Regions from separate parts of the Homo sapiens genome. Here region 2 is linked to region 1. Evidence: promoter capture Hi-C in human tissues and cell types (Jung and others, 2019). All regions are on one chromosome and are shown on one strand. Each heading gives the region's core, a stretch centred on a gene start or on the middle of the fragment in contact. The rest is flanking DNA. Distances are from core to core; before and after follow the strand shown.

The links. Contacts are between HindIII fragments. The study calls those that stand out against the background at their distance.
Region 2: a fragment that was not itself captured here is called in contact with the fragment with the promoter of VCAM1 in region 1 in 3 of the 25 tissues and cell types used here (H1 embryonic stem cells, mesenchymal stem cells and mesendoderm cells).

The regions. Positions count from the first base shown.
Region 1 is chr1:100,716,479-100,724,075 of GRCh38, reverse strand. It overlaps VCAM1 (vascular cell adhesion molecule 1), which reads right to left and starts at 4,334. Exons shown (of 9, transcript NM_001078.4): 1 at 4,152-4,334; 2 at 3,325-3,600; 3 at 736-1,056. The coding sequence starts at 4,215. The HindIII fragment of the contact is 2,330 bases long and covers 2,995-5,324 here.
Region 2 is chr1:100,562,014-100,569,610 of GRCh38, reverse strand. No RefSeq gene overlaps it. Among named protein-coding and RNA genes, the nearest start is that of GPR88, 28 kb to the right of the region's middle. The HindIII fragment of the contact is 5,988 bases long and covers 1,864-7,597 here.

The DNA of each region.
Region 1 (7,597 bases), core at 3,085-5,584:
TTTCTCTTCAGAAAAATATCCTCTATCTTGACTATTCTTCTCAAAATATTGTTAAAAGCCTTCCCAGCTCATTCTCTTTCAGCTAAACATGCCGTAGTTGGCAATACTCCCTTTAAATGTGGTACCCAGTGCAGAACATAGCATTTTAGTCCAGAACAGAGCACAGTGAGGCCACTCCTACACAACGCTGGGACTACAAGACTCCCACAAATCCCCTGGCAGTATCAGGGAGATTGGAGGCAATCAAACCCCGTCATTTTTCCCCTGTCCAGTGCACCTATGTATGTATGTGCATATGCATACACACACACACATACACACACAGAATAAGTGATCACCTTGTCAAGTTTCTGTACCTGTGCAACTAATAGTTCAAGGCATACTATAAGAGTTTACAAAACAATATTAAAATGTTTTATCATTTGAGCCTATTTCCCACTACCCAATCAGGTGGTATTACTATTCCCCTTTTATACACTGGGAAATAGAGAAATTAAGTAACCCAAACTCACACAGTTAATAGAGCCAGAAATTAAGCTCAAGCCTTCTCAGTCCAAATCCAGTGTTCTTTTCACTGAATTATACTATTGACAAACATTATGTTGTGAATGAATACAAATGGAATACAAACTATATACAAGTTTTTTTTTTTTTTACTTTTCTGCTAAGTTTATTGCTATACACAACCAAGGTGGGATTCCCACAAAGACTGGAACACATCGCACAAGTACTTACTGTAGACTTGCAATTCTTTTACAGCCTGCCTTACTGTGGGCACAGAATCCATTTCATCAATGTGTAATTTAGCTCGGCAAACAAGAACTTTTCCAATATCCTCAATGACAGGAGTAAAGGTTACTTCCAAACTCTTGGTTTCCAGGGACTTCCTGTCTGCATCCTCCAGAAATTCCTGACTCTTCATGAGATGATCTCCTTTCAGTAAGTCTATCTCCAGCCTGTCAAATGGGTATACATCAGCAACTGAACACTTGACTGTGATCGGCTTCCCAGCCTCCAGAGGGCCACTCAAATGAATCTCTGGATCCTTAGGAAAAGCTGAAAAGGCCAAACAAATACATGGATGGGCTTTTTGCTAATGTGATATAAGGTCTCTTACCACTTTAACACAATACAAATCAAGTCTAGCGTTTTTGTTAATACAGTCTTAATACGACAGAACTGTTTGAATAGCCTTTCATGATTTGGGGTGAGTTCAAGGCACAAGAATTGGAAGCAAACATTTTTTACAACATTATTCAATTCTGATCCTGTATATATTAAGAGTTGCATGTTATTACAGTAAAAGAAAGAAGAAAAAATAATGTTTATATTGAACCTTACATGTGGCTGTCACTGTGCTATAGATTTAACATGAATGATTTCATTTTATCCTCACAATAACTCTAGGAGATAGAGATCACATTTCACAGAAAAGAAGACCTGGACTTAGTACATTTACATAACTTGTCTAAGGTCACACACCTAGTAAATGGTAAAGCTGGGATTTAAACTCAGGATTTCCATTATTGTGTTTTGCTACTACAGATTTACATTATGTTACATCACATTTTCTTATTATAGTCAGGGCAGATATATTTCCATTTTACAGATAATGACTGTAAGCCTTGGAATGTCATTGCAAAGAATAGTTATTGTCAAGATATTCTAAGAAATGAGAAGACCAACTTTAAGTAATTAGCTTCTGAAAATGGTGCCTCTGACAGGAATTCATCCACCAGAAAGATACATTTGTGCAATCTTTATGTTCTGGAACACATATTTGCCTCCTGAAATGCCTAACTCACTATCCCAACAAGTGTTCCATTGAAGCTTCTAGTACAAGGAAATACACTACTTCACGTGGCCATTGCCTCCTTTGCAAGAGTTACCTTTTTCATTATGCATTATGATGAAGTAACATATTGGTGGATTCAAAACTGTGTAGCAAAAAGAATACAAAGGTCTCAACTCTAACCACTATTACAATCAAATGCGGAAAGGAGACAGAACTGTTATACATAATGAGAAACAGACACTCTTGGAGAAAAACCTCAGGCAAGATAATTAAAACCAGAAGCGTCTTCATTTCTCTTTCTTAAATCTTCAACTATTTGGTACTAGTGGGCAAAAGACAAAGGAGCTGGAAATTCTTTCCTATGTGAAGAAACATGGTATTTTTCATTTTTCCAGCAATAATTTCTGTCCCTCATATTCTGTAAGAAATGTTCCTCTAATCCACACAGTTCGATGTCAGGTAACATAAGAACTTGCTACTTTTCCCTGTATTTACATAAGGGAAGCTTTCAAGGAGCTCGGGAGGCTGCACAGACATAAACTATGCACATACAACCAGCATAATTGAAAGCAGCCGGCCAAGCACAGTTTCTTGGGAAGCTTGAGCAACACATGCGGTTTGTTGCAGAATCAATTAAGGTTACTGGGAAAAGTTGAGCTCCGGTACAATAAAACGAAACCAAAGTAATTATAATCAAATGAGGTCTTCATGAAGACATGACCGTAAATGGGTTCAGTTTTTTAGAAAGAGAGGCCATCAGTAACAAAAGGCAAATGATTTATGTCTGGTTAGTTTTTTACTCCTCTTGCTAACTTTGTTTGCTGAATGGAGAATGGAGTGGGATGCATTTTGTCAGGCTGGTAAACTAGGGACATCCACTCACTTTCATGAGGCAAATCTAGTTCATTATATAAATATCTTTGAAGTTGAGCGGTTGAGCACCAAGGCTTCATGGCACCAAAAAAACCAAAAAAAAATCCTAAATGTGTCAACACCAAAGTCAAATGATTGAAATGTTTCCAGATATTAACAATTATGTCTAAGAAGAACACTTTTATACTAATACATATTACTAATTATAGATCTACTTAATGTTTAAACTAATTTTAAGCATCAAATTGCATAAGAATAAATGAATAGAAAATCCCTGAAGGATGGAATTCATAAATCAATCAGACACATAAGCAAGTAAACATGTAAGGATGTAATCAAATGGAAATATTTTTTAATAAAACAAAAAGAAACTTAGAAATGATCATTTTACAGCTAAGGAAACCAGAGCCCAGAGAGGTTGAGTCTTATACATGGTCACTGTGTTTGTGGCAGAGGTAGAAATAGAAGCCAAGATTTGGATTCCTGCTCTCTCTCATGTTGGCCTTAGCTGTCCCTAGCTTTCCTGATGTTGTATGTTCTTTAGCCAAGAATCTGTACATGAATATCCATTTTAAAACTTTTTTTAAAATATCATTTTTAAAAAGTGATTTTAAAGTAAAATTGAGAGAAAAACAAAGATTTTCTAAAGCACTCACAGTAGATCTCCACCTGGATTCCTTTTTCCAATTTCCTAGATTCACAAGTTGCTGTGCACAGGTAAGAGTGTTCGTTCCCAAAACTAACAGGATTCATTGTCAGCGTAGATGTGGTCCCCTCATTCGTCACCTTCCCATTCAGTGGACTATCTATCTGGGTTCTCCAAGAGAAAAATGGGGACTCACAGCCTGTGGTGCTGCAAGTCAATGAGACGGAGTCACCAATCTGAGCAAGATATCTAGATTCTGGGGTGGTCTCGATTTTAAAAGCTTGAGCTGCAAAAGCAAAAAAAGACAGAAGCAAATTTACCACTAGTTTGTCTAGTATTCTCCTCCTTCTTCTCTGTATAATGTCTAAAATATGATCAGACTGATCTCTTTCCTAAGCTGCTTCAAACTAACTGCAAGGTAGCCAAAAAGCACCGAAGTCACTGCCAAAAAAGTTTATGGAATCATCTTCAGTAGAGAGAATTCTCAGTTCCAACCTTGATGCCCATTTATCAAAGCTGTTTTGTTATTTGCTAAGTTTGACCTCATTGTCAAGTATAGGAAACTAAAGAGACAGACCGACTAGAGACAGAATCCAAATTACTCAATTGCCTTTGGAAAAAAAGATACCAAAAACATCAATTTTCAGCTCTAACTATGACAGTACAATGGTATATAGCAAAACTCAATTGCATATTAAAAGTTAGACTAAATTAACTTTTCCTACTGTTTAAAATCCTAGTGTCTTTACTTCACTACTATCGCAAAACTGACTGAAGCCAAAACCAGGGCTAAAATTGAATGCTAACATTTGAAACAGATGAAGGGAAATAACTTACAAGCTGCAAACATTATCCAAAGTATATTTGAGGCTCCAAGGATCACGACCATCTTCCCAGGCATTTTAAGTTGCTGTCGTGATGAGAAAATAGTGGTTCCAAAACCCTTATTTGTGTCCCACCTGTGTGTGCCTGGGAGGGTATTCAGCTCCTGAAGCCAGTGAGGCCCGATGCAGATACCGCGGAGTGAAATAGAAAGTCTGTGCTTTATAAAGGGTCTTGTTGCAGAGGCGGAGGGAAATCCCTTCAAGGGGAAACCCAGGGCAGAGCCAGGGAAAAAAGTTTAACAGACACCCAGCCAAGTTCCACTATTAACCCCTTCAGTTGCTCTCACTGCTGAAGCTCCTCTCTCTGTCCTGGCAAAAGAAGACACTTCCAAGACTATAAAATACAGGCTTTTCCTCATCTTCGACTCCAAAAGGCTATCTTTACTGGAAAGATAAAGGACAATGCTGATTGCAGAATGAAGCTTTCTGAATCCAATGTGGGTTAAGGGGGTGGGGAGAGAAAAAATGGAGACAGAGTAGTAAATTCTACTCTGGTTTTTGAACTGGATAAATAACGACTATGCCATGTGAATTGATTTTCTCCATCAAGGAAATATGTTTGCAATTCTAAAAGAGATTAATTTTTTTCTCTTACAAGAGAAAGGAAAAAGTTATTTCTTTTGATGAGTCATTTTTTAAAAAAGGGACACCATAACTTCTTAGTTTTATATTTATTCATAAAAATAGTTCTTTTAGCAACAAACATCAACTTTTTGAAACTATTTTCTTGAGTAGAAAGTAAAGGACTGTAACTGAAATTGCTGCCAAAACAAGGGAAACAATTTTTTTTTGTTTTAGAAAAGTTACCAATAATTTGGTTAAATTGCTGGATAATTGGAATTTTTTTGCATACTTAAATGCAAGTGTATGGAATCCATCTGAAGTGGCAAATCTCTTGGGCTGTGAGATTTAACCGCAAACCCAGTTAAAAAATTAAAAATAATAGGTTTTTATTATAGGCAAGGGGACAATAACCAACTCTATGTTCCTTTTCCCCCCAGTGAAGTGCCTTTTTAAAAAAATCCCAATTAACTAACTGGCTTAGCCTTGCACACACATAGCCCAAGGCCTTGCAAAATGCTTGCCCATCAAAAAGAAACCGGAATAGCCACTTCCTTTTATTAAACACGTGCAGGTCTATCTCCCCCATTGGATCATCAGTTCCTCTCATGGTCAGGACCAGTTCTTGTTCATTGTTGTATCTACTTCTACAATATCTAATGCATGATTTTCCACTTAGTGGATACAAAAAATGCAATAATAAACGTTATACATTTGGAGAAGAAAATTCTAAATACTAGCAATAATATGTAAATACGGCATGAAAAAACTGTTAAATTCTACAAGAAAATTCTAAAGCTCAGAGACTCAATGGGATGTGTACAATAAACTTGTACTATATAACATTTGTACTCTGTAACAAAGGCCATAGCTGAGGTCTGGAATCTATAACTGTCCCTACCTGGTTGGAGAGGCTTCTGGATCTCCTCTTGGATACTGATGTGGCTCCCACTAAAAGACAAGGAGGGAAAAATAAGTTGGAGATGCTGTTCTAGGGTGTGGGGATATATAGGTATGACTTCACCTACCAAATATCTAGGGATCAGAAAAATTGATTCAGGAAATACTAGCTTATAAACAAGTAACCCAGAGGTCCTTTACAGTGTTTGTGTCATCATCATGTAAATTCACTACTTAACTTCAGAATAGATCAAAAGGGTATTATGGAGTTTTAATATGTTCCTTTGAGGCTCAAAGACAATGGCCAATAGGATCCTTGGGATCATTATGACCAAGCTATGTTGTTCTGAGTTTGGATATGATTCGAAGCTTGCAACATTGGAGAAATGCCTAATCTATTCATTTAACTCATAGTGGTCTTGGCAAATGTTTGATCAAGTCCCTCACTATATCTTTGAGTTGGATGACATCTGAAGTCCTACCTGCTCCTCCCAGGTTGAGAGGATTGCACCCTCCTCGGTGGCCTCACTACAACAAGTGCATATTGATGGAGCATTTATCATTCTGCATTTACTGATTAATATGCCTATATTTTCTACTTTGCTAACTCATATGGTTTCATTTTTTCATCTCAGCATTTAGCTTAAAATAAAGCATTTATTAAAATTTGCAGAATTAATGAATGATCAGAGTTGCAAGTATAAGGTTAACAGATTTAGACTAACCTGTCTGAATAAAGTACTACTGAGTTTTGTCTTTGAACTTGTTCGGTTTAACCTTTTTATTAGTAGCATAAAGCACATAATATGGTTTGGCCTTGTCCCCACTGAAATATCATTTTGAATTCCCATGTGTTGTGGGAGGGACCCTGTGGGAGGTAACTGAATCATGGAGGCAAATCTTTCCCGTGCTGTTCTCATGATCGTGAGTAAGTCTCACAAGAGCTGACGGTTTTAAAAAGAGCAGTTCCCCATACAGAAGCTCTCTCTCTTTGCCTGCCACCATCCATGTAAGACGTGACTTGCTCCTCCTTGCCTTCCACCATGACTGTGAGGCTTCCCCAGCCAGGTGGAACTATAAGTCCATTAAACCTCTTTTTCTTCCTGGTTTTGGGTATGTCTTTATCAGCGTGTGAAAACAAACTAATACAGCACGTGATTATCTAACCTATTAATAATGCAAAACTGGGAAAGACAACCTTAGAGATGAGAGAAGCAAGATAAAGAAGACCTCAAGGTATGTAATAATATTCCAGATGACGAAGTAAAATTTAATAGGAATGCATTAAAGGTCAGCATTTAAATGTTTCCAATGTTTGAGTACAGTATGGGAGAGATCTGACTTGGTCACAATTCACAGAAAGAAGGTCTTGTGATTTTACGAACCATAAAAATGAACACTGCCATGAGAAATCAAAATAGCTGTGATGAGTCCAGGTTGCACTCCTAGTAATTCAACCTTCAAGTCTTCTGAGGCCACAGTCTCTGAGCACTACACACCCACCAGATCATACTGGGAGCCTGGGTGTCTAATTCAGAATGCCACTCCTTAAGAAAGATGCTGACGAAATTAAGGGTGTCCAGAGAAAAGTAATAGCTCCTATGTTGAAGAAAAAGGACATATTTTGTCTAGAGAAGAGGCACCCATGAAGCAATGTGATAACTGAATGATTAATGCACAGGGGAAGGAATTTACTTATTACTCTGTGCTATACCAAAAGCTAAAAGTACAACTCATATGTAGGCAATTACCAGATTATTAGCTCTAGAGGAACCAAGAATGTCTATGTCTTGTTCACCATTAGTGCTTCAGCACTTTTAACATAGTAACCAGTAGATACTAGGAGCTCAGTAAATCCCTACTGATTGAATATATAACAATTTAAAGGAGATCTGGACTCAGAGTCTAATAGTCTTGTCTTCAAGTCCAGGTATTCTA
Region 2 (7,597 bases), core at 3,608-6,107, 150 kb after region 1:
TATGTTAAGATGCACCTACTTGTATACTTTAAATGTGCACAGTTTATTATATTTCAATTACACCTCAATAAAGCTATTAGACAAACAAAGACCTTTCTTTGTTTTTTAAAACCATCTTGAAAAGAGTGGTGTAGAGAAAATAGAAATAATGGTCATCTAGCAAATAATGAATATTCTAAACACCTGAGCTCTGCACCAGCTGCTATGGTGATACATATAAAGTAGAAAACTATAGATATAGATATAAATATAGATATAGATACTTTAAGTTCTGGGATGCATGTGCAGAATGTGCAGGTGTGCTACATAGGTATACATGTGCCATGGTTTTTTGCTGCACCCATCAACCAGTCATCTACATTAGGTACTTCTCCTAATGCTATCCCTCCCCTAGCCCCCCACCCCCTGATAGGCCCTGGTGTGTGATGTTCCCCTCCCTGTGCCCATGTGTTCTCATTGTTCAGCTCCCACTTACGAGTGCAAACATGCGGTCTTTGGTTTTCTGTTCCTGTGTTAGTTTGCTGAGAATGATGGTTTCCAGCTTCATCCATGTCCCTGCAAACGACATGAACTCACCCTTTTTATGGCTGCATAGTATTCCATGGTGTATATGTGCCACATTTTCTTTATCCAATCTATCATTGATGGGCATCCAGGTCTGTGCTGTTGTGAATACTGCAGCAATAAACATATGTGTACATGTGTCTTTATAAAAGAATGATTTATAATCCTTTGGGTATAAACCCAGTAATGGGATTGCTGGGTCAAATGGTATTTCTGGTTCTAGATCCTTGAGGAATCGTTGCACTGTCTTCCACAATGGTCGAACGAATTTACACTCCCACCAACATTGTAAAAACATTTCCATTTCTCCACATCCTCTCCAGCATCTGTTGTTTCCTGACTTTTAACAATAGACACCTGGCAAGGCTGTGCATGCTCCTTTCATTGCAGATCATTTGCTCACAAGATAAGAGCTTGTGTCTGTTTTTCCACAGTTTCAGCTCTTTCTCTACAGGAGATAAGACTCTCACCCAGGGCAATCTTAGCAGGTTTGAGCCTCAATATCTGCTTCTGAAGCTAGGCGATAGAATCCCTGAGTTCATCATGTTCCTTCATCACTTTGTCCACTGAACTTAGGAATACCCAACCAGCTTCATTATGTTCCTTGGTTCTCCACATATGGTCAAAGGTACAATGTCTAGAGTCACTAAACTCCTTGCCTCTCACAAACGATGAATCAGGAGTGTCAAATGCATTTATTTTGCATAACTCTCTAAACAGTTCATGCCAAGGACTATCAGTGTTCTCCATACTTTTAGTAGAGTCCTTAGCATTTTGGGGTCTAATCATATTAAGCAGCCAACTCCAGAAACCCCAAAACCAATTAAAGAACTCCATCCTTAATATTCTGTTCCTCTAGAACTCCACTCCTGGTACCAAAATCTGTATTAGTCAGGGTTCTCTAGAGGGACAGAACTAATGGAATAGATGAGATAGAGATAGAGATAGAGATAGATAGAGATAGAGATAGATGGAGATAGAAATAGAGATAGACATAGATATACACATAGACATAGACATAGACATAGACATAGACATAGACATAGACATAGGCATAGACATAGACATAGACACAGATATACGGGACTTTATTAAGTATTAACTCACATGATCACAAGGTCCCACAATAGGCCGTCTGCAGCCTGAGGAGCAAGGAGAGCCAGTCTGAGTTCCAAAACTGAAGAATTTGGAGTCCTATGTTTGAGGGCAGGAAGCATCCAGCACAGGAGAAAGATGTAGCCTGGGTGGCTAGGCCAGTCTCTCTTTTCACATTTTCCTGCCTGCTTATATTCTAGCCATGCTGGCAGCTGATTAGACTGTGCCCACCCAGATTAAGGGTGGGTCTGCCTTTCCCAACCCACTGACTCAAATGTTAATCTCCTTTGGCAACACCCTCACAGACACACCCAGGGTCAATACTTTGTATCCTTCAATCCAATCAAGTTGACACTCAGTATTAACCATCACAATTGTATAAAAGGGAAAACTGATCCAGAATATTCAACAATAAAATATCCCAATAAAATTATTACACTTTAAAGATTTAAAAGAATATAGAAAAAGAATCCTTTGGAAGTCAGGCAAAGAAAACAAAAGTCAAGTCACTTATAAGAAACAGAAATCCATTTGGCATTATATCTCTCATCTGTCACCGGAATACAGAGTAACAAAACCTATAAGACTCTCAAAAGAAACAAACTGTACATCAAAATTGTATATCCAGCCATGTTGTCCTTCAGCCATAAAGGCTATAAACAAATAGTTTTGAATTTTCAAAACTCAGCATTTATTGTTCATATAACTCTTTCCTGAAAAACTTGTAATGACTTTTTTTACTTTTTTTCTTTTTCTTTTTACTTTTTTACTTTTTCTTTTTCTTTTTACTTTTTTAAGGTGGTGTTTTAAATATTTTAAATTCCCATGTGGCTCACATTTGTGACTTGCATTACATTTCTTTTGGACAGCATTAATATAAGACAGCACCATGTACAATTAATAAATATAACTGTGCAAGACAAAAAAAATTCTGTTAGACAAAAACAAATAACAAATTCAGGAAAATATAGTTTCAGACCATATCACAGACAAGGGTTTATTACCTTGATATAAAAAGAGTTCCTAGAAATTGAGAGGAATTGAAAAATAATCCTAAAGTTAAAATGGGTAAAAGGTATAGACATTGAGAAAAAATATGGCCCCTAACAACCTAAGCATAATGTATTAATTATCACTTATAATGATGGAAATACAAATAAATTTACATTGTGAATTCATATATTATAATTTAGGTAGACACAATTCAAGAGTGACTGTACACTTTGTTGTTGATGTATGTGGAAAAACATATATTGCCTCACACATTGCAGATGAGAAGAACAATTTGGCAATATTTATCTAAATTACAAACACATTTACCCTTTGACCAAAGAATTCCCATAACTATCTTACAGGTATACCTTCACACATATTAAAACGTATCTGTACAAAGTTATTGCATCAATGTTTGTATTAAAACCTATTAGAAAACAGTTCAAGAGTTCACCAACAGGGGACTTATAAAATAAATTATGGTACATTTACTTGTTCAATGAAATACAAGTCATCTGTAAAAGAAAGAAGTTCTTTGTACACTGATATGAACAGATCTACCAGACTAATTAAGACCAAGGTGCAGAGAAGTCTATATGGTATATATTTTTGTTTGAGAAAGAGAAGAAAATAAGAATTATATAAGCTCGTATTTGTAAAAGAAACACAGAAAAGATATACAGACGGTAATAAAAGTACTTACTTGTACACGTCAGGGGAGTGGTGAGAGTGCACCTCAAAGACAAGCAGCAAGGAAGCCAGTGTGGAGTGGAGAAACAAAGGAGGAGGATAATAAGAGATGAGATCAGCAAGATTAATAGTGGCCGCATCACATGGTGTCATGTAGGTCCTAAAGAGGAAATTAGCTTTTAAAGTAAGATGCAATTCCATTAGAGAATTTTAAGCTAAGGCATGACATGATCTACCTTGTAGGTTAAAAGAAGCATTTTATGTGCTACATTGATAATGGATTGTAAAAGGATTAAGGGAAATAGCAGGAAACCCAATTAAGAGGCTTTTGTGGTGGTAAATGAGAGTGGCTTCGTCTAGGATGGAAGCAGTAAAAGTGGTAAAAATGGTGTATTAGTCCATTCTCACACTGCTATAAAGATACTACCTGAGACTGGGTAATATATAAACAAAGGAAGTTTAATTGACTCACAGTTCTGCATGACTGGGGAAGCCTCACGAAACTTACAATCATGACAGAAGGTGAAGAGGAAGCAAGGCAAGTCTTACCGTCTTACATGGTGGCAGGTGAGAGAAAGACCAAGAGCCAGGAAGTGCAACACTTGAAAACCATCAGCTCTCATGAAAACTCCCTCATGAGAACAGCATGGGGGAAACCTTCTCCATGATCCAATCACCTCCCATTTATCTTTCTGGGGTCTGGAGGACAGTGGCCCTCTTCTCACAGCTCCACTAGGCAATGCCTCAGTGGGGACTCTGTGAGGGGACTCCAACCCCGCATTTCCTTTCCACAGTGCCCTAACATAGGTTCTGCATGAGGCTCTACCCCTGCAGCAGACATCTGCCTTGACATCCAGGCATTTCCATACATCCTCTGAAATCTAGGCAGAGGTTCCCAAAACTCAACTCTTATTTTCTGCACACCCACAGACCCAACACCACATGGTAGCCAACAAGGCTTGGGGCTTGCATCCTCTGAAGCAATGGATGAGCTGTACCTTGTCCCCTTTTAGCCACAGCTGCAGCTGGAGCCGCTGGAACACAGGGCCCCAAGTCCCAAGGCTGCATAGAACAGCTGGGTCCTAGGCCTGGCCCATAAAACCATTTTTCCCTCCTAGGCGTCTCAGCCTGTGATAGGAGGAACTGCTGCAAAGATCTCTGACATGCCCTGGAGACATTTTCCCTATTGTTTTGGCTATCAACATTCAGTTCCTTGTTACTTATACAAATTTCTGAAGCCAGCTTGAATTTCTCCCCAGAAAAAAATGGGTTTTTCTTTTCTACCACATGGTTAGGCTGCAAATTTTCCAAACCCTTATGCTCTGCTTCCCTTTTAAATATAAGTTCCAATTTCAAACCATCTCTTTGTGAGCACCTAAAACTGAATACATTCAGAATAATCCAGGTCACATCTTGAATGCTTTGCTGCTTAGAAATTTCTTTGCCGGATACCCTAAATCATCTCTCTCAAGTTCAAAATTCCACAGATCTCTAGGGCAGGGGCAAAATGACACCAGTCTCTTTGCTAAAGCAAAATGCCACCACTCTCTGCATTTGAGCTTTCTGTTGTACATAAAAGGGTTATTTTGATTGTTTCTGTTGGTTTGTCTGAACTGGGGTAAGTTGCTCTCTTCTGTTCAAAAAGTGAGGTCAGGGATTTTTGTTTCCCTGGGTCCTAGAACAGTAGCTCCTTTGTCTAGCCCCTCCAGGGTTTACTTGACATCTTAAGGACTACAAAGGTTAGGATGAGTTCCTCTCAGTCCACAGCACCTGGAAATCTTCCAGCTACTTACATGTTTAAGAACTATAGGCTGAGATTTTGTGTCTTTTCAGAAAAATGGGTGAACTTTTCTAAGGGTAATTTAGAATTGCCGAAGCCACTTGGAGAACCTTTAACTTAGATAAAATAAGCTTATCTTAGAGGCACCTTGAAAAAAGGAGAATATGAAACCTCCCCAAAACAATGGGATACATTCTTCAATTGGTATAAAGAGGCTTCTGAAAGACAAAATGACTCTAGAATCACCTCTCTAAAAAATCCTTACAGCATGCTAATAAGAAAGTAAAGACCAAAATTCAGATTGACTGTACTGATGCAACAGAACCGCCTGTTAAATCTCTCTGCTTCTCTATATCATCTATTCCCTAATTATTCTGAAACTACTAACTGTTGATCCTTTGCTGTTTCCTCCAAACCGTTTCACCATAAAATGCCCTTTAAAATAAGACTTTCTAATGAACCTGGGGTACCAATCTCAGCAGAATTTAAACTTTTATCTCTAGCTGAACTCCAAGCCACATAATTTTCCAGACCTTAAAAGAGACTAAACTAAATTTAAACAAGAATTTTAAATTCCTTTGGGTGCTTATGATCCAGGAATCCCTGATTTATATCAATTTGTTTACGTGGTACTCAGCCCTGGAGGTATTCAAAAATGGCTTCAAGAAATGGATTGGAAGAATCCCATTAAAGATTTTGAAGATTCTGTTAAGCATGCTTCTAAGAGTAGACTAAAAAGAAACCATGTCTGAGGCTTTTTCTAAGAGAACAGATTGGTCCATGTCTTAGTCCATTTTCTGCTGCTGTAACTGAATACCTTAGACTGAGTAATTTATAAAATATAAATATTCCTAACAGTTCTAGAAGCTTGGAAGTCCAAGGTCTAGGGAGTGTACCTTGAGAGAGTCTTCTTGCTGTTGGAAACTGCAGTGTCAGGAGTTGGCACAAGGCATTACATGGTGAAGAGTTCATTAGAGATGGCCAAACTGGCTTTTATAACAAACCCACTCTTGTAATAACTAACCCACTTCCATGATAACCTATTAATCCATTAACCTATCAATCAATTCATGAGGGCAGAGCCCACATAACCCAATCACCTATTAAACCTCCTGCCTCTCAGTACTGTTTAATAGCAGGTTAAGATGAAACATGAGTTTCAGAGGGGACAAACTATATTCAAACCATAGCAAGGCCATAAACCAATCTTGCAAACAGAAAAAAGACGAATCTGCTGTGGATTATTGTTTCTGCTTAGAAAAAAATACTTAAACAGTACAAAATATTTAAACATTTTGGCCATAGTGGCCAAAATGATGAAGTGGCTATGTCAGCCCATTTTGTTAATGGGCTGCACATACAGATAAGTGACGTATGAAAGAAACATAAAGTAGAAAGCGAAGTGACTCCCATGACAGTATTACAATATTTAGCAAAACATTTTGGGAAAAACTTAGAACAAATAAAGTAACCACCAGACAAATAAATTGATGATTTTGTAATTACAGTCATTGCAGGGGCCTCAGCCTAACTTTAAAATACCTTTATCCAACAACTCTTTCAATAAAGACATTTTTCATTATTGTAAACAAATAGGACATTGGAAGAATTACCCATTAAACCCCTTAACACAGCAATCTAGACTATCAGACTGGAAACAAAAGGGAGATTCTGAACTTTCTGACTCCTATGATAACTGTCAATACTAATGGGGCTCCAAGGAATGGCAAGGTAAACCACTTCCAATAATTTCTTTAAATCAACAAACGGAAACTAAATTTTAAAAATAGAGAAATTTGTTCTGTGTAAGTAGACACTGAAGCAACTCTCTCCACTTTGAACTCCACCATGATAAATCAAGAACTTCTTCAGAATAATAAAAAAAAAAACTCAATGGTGGAAACTCTCTGAAATTCAAAGGTTTTTTTATTGGAACTCATAACTATCACCCTCTGCCCCTTCTCTGAAAATTATGCTTTTCTGTTAGGTAATAATACTGCCCTAGGTAGAGACCTGCTTTCTAAACTGAGAGGTCAAATTCAATTTTCCTTAGGAGAAACAACATTAGAAAGTCAAGATTTATTAGACACTGAAATATTATGTGTTTTCTAAACCCAAATTGTGCTGAGGAAACTACTAAATTTCATTAAAATATAGATATTATAGATGTCTCTGAAATTCCTGACACTCTATGGATATCTTCTTCTACAGATGTGAGAAAAATCAAAAGTGCTAAACCTATTAAAATTCAGATTAATCCTCCAAAATTGCTTCCTAAGTTGCCTCAATACTGTTTAAAACCTAAAGCCATAAAAGGGCTTACTCCTATAATAGAGGAGTTAATAAAAAAGGTTTGTTATTCCTTGTACCAATCCTTGCACTACTCCCATCTTATCTGTCAAAAAACTGCACAGATAAGAATGAAGACTTGTACAAGATCTTAGAGATATAAATACAATTGTTATTCCAAGATTT